Linked DNA regions of Homo sapiens: region 2 is linked to region 1. Evidence: promoter capture Hi-C in 16 types of primary human blood cells and fetal thymus (Javierre and others, 2016). All regions are on one chromosome and are shown on one strand. The core of a region is centred on a gene start or on the middle of the fragment in contact, and the rest is flanking DNA. Distances in the headings are between cores, read along the strand shown.

Evidence for each region. Contacts are between HindIII fragments. The CHiCAGO score rates a contact against its expected background, and 5 or more counts as called.
Region 2: a fragment that was not itself captured here is called in contact with the fragment with the promoter of IL2RG in region 1 in 1 of 17 cell types (total CD4 T cells); the score reaches 5.0 in total CD4 T cells.

The regions. Positions count from the first base shown.
Region 1 is chrX:71,110,327-71,113,771 of GRCh38, reverse strand. IL2RG (interleukin 2 receptor subunit gamma) reads left to right here and starts at 2,195. Exons shown (of 8, transcript NM_000206.3): 1 at 2,195-2,347; 2 at 2,722-2,875; 3 at 3,084-3,268. The coding sequence starts at 2,233. RefSeq lists enhancers at 2,043-2,432, 1,535-2,734. The HindIII fragment of the contact is 3,788 bases long and covers 1,598-3,445 here.
Region 2 is chrX:72,100,018-72,103,528 of GRCh38, reverse strand. All of the region lies in intron 1 of NHSL2 (NHS like 2), which reads right to left. Among named protein-coding and RNA genes, the nearest start is that of RTL5, 30 kb to the left of the region's middle. RefSeq lists a silencer at 2,293-2,412. The HindIII fragment of the contact is 3,103 bases long and covers 351-3,453 here.

The sequences.
Region 1 (3,445 bases), core at 946-3,445:
AATTGGAGAATGCCCTCTGTAGTGGGTTGAATGTGGCCTCCAAAAAGATATGTTCACTTGGAACCTGTGGATGTCACCTTCTTTGACAAAAGGCTTTTAGCAGCTGTAATTAAGGCAAAGCTCCTAGGAGAGAACACCCTGGATTAGGGTGGGCCATAAATCCAATGACAGGTGTCCCTGTAAGAGAAGAGAAGGATAAAGGAGATGCAGAGAAGAAGAAGAGGTAATGCAAAGATGGAGGCAGAGATTGGAATGATGTGTCTACAAGCCAAGGAGCACCAAGGATCGACGGCAGCCACCAGAAGCTAGAAGAGAGGCATGGAACAACTTCTTCCTCAGCGCCTCCAGAAGGGACCAACCCTGGCCACACTGATTTCGGACTTCTGGGCTCCAGAACTGTGAGAAAATAAATGCCTTTTTTTCCTTTTTAAAAAATTTTTATTTATTTATTTATTTATTTATTTGAGATGGAGTCTCACTCTGTTGCACAGGCTAGAGTGCAGTGGCGCAATTTTGGCTCACTGCAACCTCTGCCTCCTAGATTCAAGCGATTCTCATGTTTCAGCCTCCCGAGTAGCTGGGATTACAGGTGTTGCCACCATGTCTGGCTAATTTTTGTATTTTTAGTAGAGACGGGGTTTCACCAGGTTGGCCAGGCTGGTCTCGAACTCCTCAAGCAATCCACCTGCCTTGGCCTCCCAAAGTGCTGGGATTGCAGGCGTGAGTCACTGCACCCAGCCGAGAGAATAAATTTCTGTTGGTTTAAGCCACTCAGTTTGGGGATAACTTATGGCAGCCCTAGCAAACTAATACATACTAAAGATACATACTAAATACTAAGCTGGGCCATATAGTCCAGTTTTCCTGAGACTCCCAGGCAAGTGCTGTTTTTCTTTGCTTAATATCCTACACCACTTTCTGTCTGGTAAAATTACACTCATTCTTTAAGATGCCACTGAAATAGCACCTCTTCAGCACAGCCTTCACTAAACTATCCCCCTCTCCATCTTGGTAAATTTAGTTACTTCCTCTTCTGTGCTCACATACTTTGTAGTATCTCTACATTTATGCTATAGGACTTGTTACACTATGTTGTATTACTTGTTTATGTCTTCCCCACTTTTCTGTGAGTGTCTAGAAATATGAGGATGTCTTGTTGGTCTATTTCCAGAACATAAGCACAGTGCCTGGCACATATTAAAAACGTAATAAATGTTTGCTGAATAAATAGTTTCTGTAAGTGGCTTCTCCAATCACCTCTGTGTTTTCGGGGAAGGTAAAACTGGCAACAGGATGAAGAATGGATTAGAGAGCAGAGGGCCTTTAGAAAGGGAGGCCAGTTGATGGAGTCTAGATAGAATCATGACTAGAGCTAATGAAAGACTGATTTAGCAGAGTGGCTGTGGTAATGGAAAGGAGGAAACCGTTGGGAGAAACACCACAGAAGCAGAGTGGGTTATATTCTCTGGGTGAGAGAGGGGGAGAAATTGAAGCTGATTCTGAGGTTTCAAGTCTGGGTGACTGAGAGGGTGACGATACCATTGACTGAGGTGGGGAAGGCAGGAAGAGAAGCAGAGTTGGGGGAAGATGGGAAGCTTGAAGCTAGTATTGTTGTTCCTCCATTTCTAGAATATTTTTGTATTATAAGTCACACTTCCTCGCCAGTCTCAACAGGGACCCAGCTCAGGCAGCAGCTAAGGGTGGGTATTCTGGTTTGGATTAGATCAGAGGAAAGACAGCTGTATATGTGCCCACAGGAGCCAAGACGGTATTTTCCATCCTCCCAAAACAGTAGAGCTTTGACAGAGATTTAAGGGTGACCAAGTCAAGGAAGAGGCATGGCATAGAACGGTGATGTCGGGGGTGGGGGTTCAGAACTTCCATTATAGAAGGTAATGATTTAGAGGAGAAGGTGGTTGAGAATGGTGCTAGTGGTAGTGAACAGATCCTTCCCAGGATCTAGGTGGGCTGAGGATTTTTGAGTCTGTGACACTATTGTATATCCAGCTTTAGTTTCTGTTTACCACCTTACAGCAGCACCTAATCTCCTAGAGGACTTAGCCCGTGTCACACAGCACATATTTGCCACACCCTCTGTAAAGCCCTGGTTTATAAGGTTCTTTCCACCGGAAGCTATGACAGAGGAAACGTGTGGGTGGGGAGGGGTAGTGGGTGAGGGACCCAGGTTCCTGACACAGACAGACTACACCCAGGGAATGAAGAGCAAGCGCCATGTTGAAGCCATCATTACCATTCACATCCCTCTTATTCCTGCAGCTGCCCCTGCTGGGAGTGGGGCTGAACACGACAATTCTGACGCCCAATGGGAATGAAGACACCACAGCTGGTGGGAAATCTGGGACTGGAGGGGGCTGGTGAGAAGGGTGGCTGTGGGAAGGGGCCGTACAGAGATCTGGTGCCTGCCACTGGCCATTACAATCATGTGGGCAGAATTGAAAAGTGGAGTGGGAAGGGCAAGGGGGAGGGTTCCCTGCCTCACGCTACTTCTTCTTTCTTTCTTGTTTGTTTGTTTCTTTCTTTCTTTTGAGGCAGGGTCTCACTATGTTGCCTAGGCTGGTCTCAAACTCCTGGCCTCTAGTGATCCTCCTGCCTCAGCCTTTCAAAGCACCAGGATTACAGACATGAGCCACCGTGCTTGGCCTCCTCCTTCTGACCATCATTTCTCTTTCCCTCCCTGCCTTCATTTTCTCCCCAATCTAGATTTCTTCCTGACCACTATGCCCACTGACTCCCTCAGTGTTTCCACTCTGCCCCTCCCAGAGGTTCAGTGTTTTGTGTTCAATGTCGAGTACATGAATTGCACTTGGAACAGCAGCTCTGAGCCCCAGCCTACCAACCTCACTCTGCATTATTGGTATGAGAAGGGACGAGGGGGAGGGGATGAAGAAGAGGTGGGTTGGATCAGAGACCAAGAGAGAGGGTAGCAAGTCTCCCAGGTACCCCACTGTTTTCTCCTGGGGTAAGTCATAAGTCGGTTGAGGGGAGATGAGGCTAGGCTCTGGATATCTGCAGTACCCAGATTGGCCCCACTGTTCCTCTTCCTTCCAACCTTTCTCCTCTAGGTACAAGAACTCGGATAATGATAAAGTCCAGAAGTGCAGCCACTATCTATTCTCTGAAGAAATCACTTCTGGCTGTCAGTTGCAAAAAAAGGAGATCCACCTCTACCAAACATTTGTTGTTCAGCTCCAGGACCCACGGGAACCCAGGAGACAGGCCACACAGATGCTAAAACTGCAGAATCTGGGTAATTTGGAAAGAAAGGGTCAAGAGACCAGGGATACTGTGGGACATTGGAGTCTACAGAGTAGTGTTCTTTTATCATAAGGGTACATGGGCAGAAAAGAGGAGGTAGGGGATCATGATGGGAAGGGAGGAGGTATTAGGGGCACTACCTTCAGGATCCTGACTTGTCTAGGCCAGG
Region 2 (3,511 bases), core at 653-3,152, 990 kb before region 1:
CTCTTACCTTGCTACCAGATTCTAAATGTTCTGCAATGCATGGGACTGTCCTGTACAATGAAGAATTGTCTTACCCACAAGGGCCATGATGCCCTCGGTGAGAAACACTGCTTAGGAAGTTTATAACTGTTTGTTTAGTGCTTCAGTAGTCCTTGGCCTGGGGTGCCAGCAACGGAGGCAGAGCAAATCTGTGGGCACTTCTCTGGACTCTTCCCAGTCCCCTCTGGCCTGAAATCCCAGTGACCTTTACATCTAGGATTGGGATTGAGGGAGCGATGCATAATATGGTGAGAACCTTCCCCCACTCCCTCCACTGTGGCCACTGCAGCTATCAGTTCCAAATCCAAGCTTTCCCAGGCGTGGGACTTTGCTAGGTCAAGAGGAGCTACCTGGGCTTGATAGCTGCCACTAGGGAGGGAAAAGTTGGCAAGAAGCTGTTTTTAGTTTCCTCCAGATGTCTGCTGGCCTAGGACCCTTTGGCTCTGTCCCCCGGGAAGGAATGTTTGTCCTAGGCAGCCTCTGCTTTGCTACTGGAGCTAGGGAGTGGGTACTCCCATCTGGGGCAAGAGAATGTGCCAACTCCTACTGTGCTTTTGCGGGTTAATCATTTCCAGGTAGGAGCTGTCACGAGTCACCCTGGTGTTCACCTCCATTGCTTTCCATGAACCAGTCTAGTTTCCTAAAAATACCTGCTCCCTATTTCCCAGGCCAAAATGCTCCAGGAAATGCCTGCAGCCCACGATTGTCAGATAAGTGGCTTCTTCTGTTAGTTTGACCTGTATTCTGATGAAAGGGATTACTAATACTGCAAGAAACAATATTCTGTGACTTACAAATTATATCTGTTAAGAATAATGAATACTTATATAGGGCTATTTATTATACTTTATAGTTTATAAAGGCTACTTTATATATTAGGTTGAACCATACAAATTTGCTGGCATTTAAATGCTTTGGACAGTTTCATAGGATTCAACCTAACACATTTTCTCATTTATTCCTCACCATAATGCTGGGTAGGTATTTTTAGCCCCATTTTACAGAGTAGAGTACTAAATCTTAAGAGTGGTGAAATGACTTTTGACTAAGATTATATATACAGGAAATAGCAGGGTTGAGACTTGAACTAAGTCTGTCTGATGCCAACTCTCATGCTCTTGGTTCTCGAGGTAGGATGATTCAGCCTGGAAGACCACTGCAAGGCTTCGAGACTCCTAGACTACCCTCAGGAATCCCCTGGCTGGTTTCTCTTGTCACCTTTTCTTAGTGGGAGAGATCAGCAGGTGCATAGATGCCTGCAAATAGAAGGTTCTAAAGTGATGAGGTGACAAGTTCTAGTTTTAAGGCTTTGGGAGCCCTGAGGAGGTACAACAAAGACAATATCCAAAGCATGTTAATTCACCCATGCATTTATCCGTCCAAGAGAATGCTACTGGGTAGCTCCCATGCACGTGACAGGCTCTGCACTAGGTGCTAAGTTAGTGCAGAGCCTAGGCTGCCAACATTCAGGGAAGAGGCTTAATCAGCAGGGCTTCTACGCTTTGGCCAGCCTCAGGAGGGGGCTGAAGCAGTAGAGGCTGGGGTGAGATCACCATGTGCATGGGACTTAGATTTCCTGTGACACTGCTCTGTCTTCCTAGCCCAGGCATGATTTGGGAGGCCACAGCTTGTGTGACCAAGCAGAAAGAAGCTGGGCTGTTGCCTGGTGCTTCAGGAGTCTGATACCACTGAGAGTTTCTAGGCTGCAGGGCTGGAGGAGGCAGCAGTAGGAAGGGAAAAGGAATGCTGGTGTTCCACTCCTCGGCCTGGTAATGGGGAAGCTGGCAGGTGGGGCCGATGAAAAAGAGCTCCCTCCCAGGCAGCCACAGGAGGAAATTCCTTTCTCCTGTGCCTAGCTGCTCTGAACCCTCGGCTCCACCATGGGGTTGGGTCTTGTAGCTGGCCAGCTTGGGGAGAAAAGGCTGGGGGAGGGCTCGTTTAGAACTTAGGCAGTGGGCATGCGACCGCCACCTTTGTTTGGGGACAGCATGTTGTCCCGTGGGAGATAATCACATTTCTCAGCTTCCTGTCAATCCAGGGGCCGAGCACCCAAGCCTGCTGTGGAGTCCAAATGCTTCCCAAACCTGGCCTGACTCAGGCCAGGGCAAAACTGGCTGCTCCACCTGTCCCCAGTGCTCTCCAGCCACCTGCCTCCTCCCATTCTGCCGACACCCACCCAGACACCAAACCCCGAGCTCAAACCCTGATGCGAGTCTTCTTGCAGGATGCAATTGAGCCCATGCTTACCATTCCAGGCTCTAAGCTGTGCCGCCATGGCTGTCACCACTGCCGCCCAGGAGCACAGTGGCTCTGGGGCCACAGAGTTAAGATCTCACAGTTGAGTAAGCCACAATGTGGGTTCTTCACACCACACCCTCCCCAACCACAGTGGTAGGGATTTCCTCAGAGCCCCGTTGCCACACACTCTGCTTTTGAAAAAAAAAAAAAAAAGGAAACAGGCATTGGGTTTTGAGTGTGATGAGACGCTGTGAACAGAGATGCCTCTGAAAGCAAAGAAAGGGGAACCTGTGACAGACCTCAGATAATCACCTCGTGAGCACTCAGGCTCTTTCTATATCTCTGTGGCCATGCTACGGCTTGTGGAAAGGCCAGGGCCATTTGTACAGCAATATGCCACATAATGGCATGTAAGTTAACACAGCAGTCCCCAACCTTTTTGGCACTAGGGACTGGTTTTGTGGAAGACAATTTCTCCACGGACTTGGGTGGGGGCATGGATTCAGGATGAAACTGTTCCACCTCAGATCATCAGGCATTAGTTAGATTCTTATAAGGAGCAAGTAATTGAGATCCCTCACATGCACAGCTCACAGTAGGGTTCCTGCTCCTATGAGAATCTAATGCCGCTGCTGATCTGACAGGAGGTGGAGCTCAGGCGGTAATGCTCGCCCGCCTGCCACTCACCTCCTGCTGTGTGACCCAGTTCTTAACAGGTCATGGACTGGTACGGGTCCATGGCCCAGGGGTTGAGGACCCCTGCTTAATGGACTGCATATATGACAACTGCATATATGACAGTGGCCCCATTAGATGATACCATAGTTTTGCTCTATCTTTTCTAGGTTTAGTTATGTTTAGATACACAGATAAGTACCATCGTGTTACAACTGCCTGTAGTATTCAGCACAGTCACGTGCTGTATGGGTTTGTAGCCTTGGAGCCATAGGCTGTACCATATAGCCTAGGTGTGCAGCAGGCTACACTATCTAGGTCTGTGTAAGTACACTCTATGATGTTTGCACAATGAGGAAATCACCTAATGACGCATTTCTCTCGTAGCGTATCCCCATTGTGAAGCGAGGCCTGACTGTACTTGGCTCGGCTGTTCTGGTCTGCACTCAACCAGCATACGTTGAATTTATTGGAGTCCACAAACCAAGACCCTGAGAAGCTTCATGAGTTGCCTTGAGTGGTGAAGTTGAGGATTTTGTCCTCAATGTCTGACCTTCTA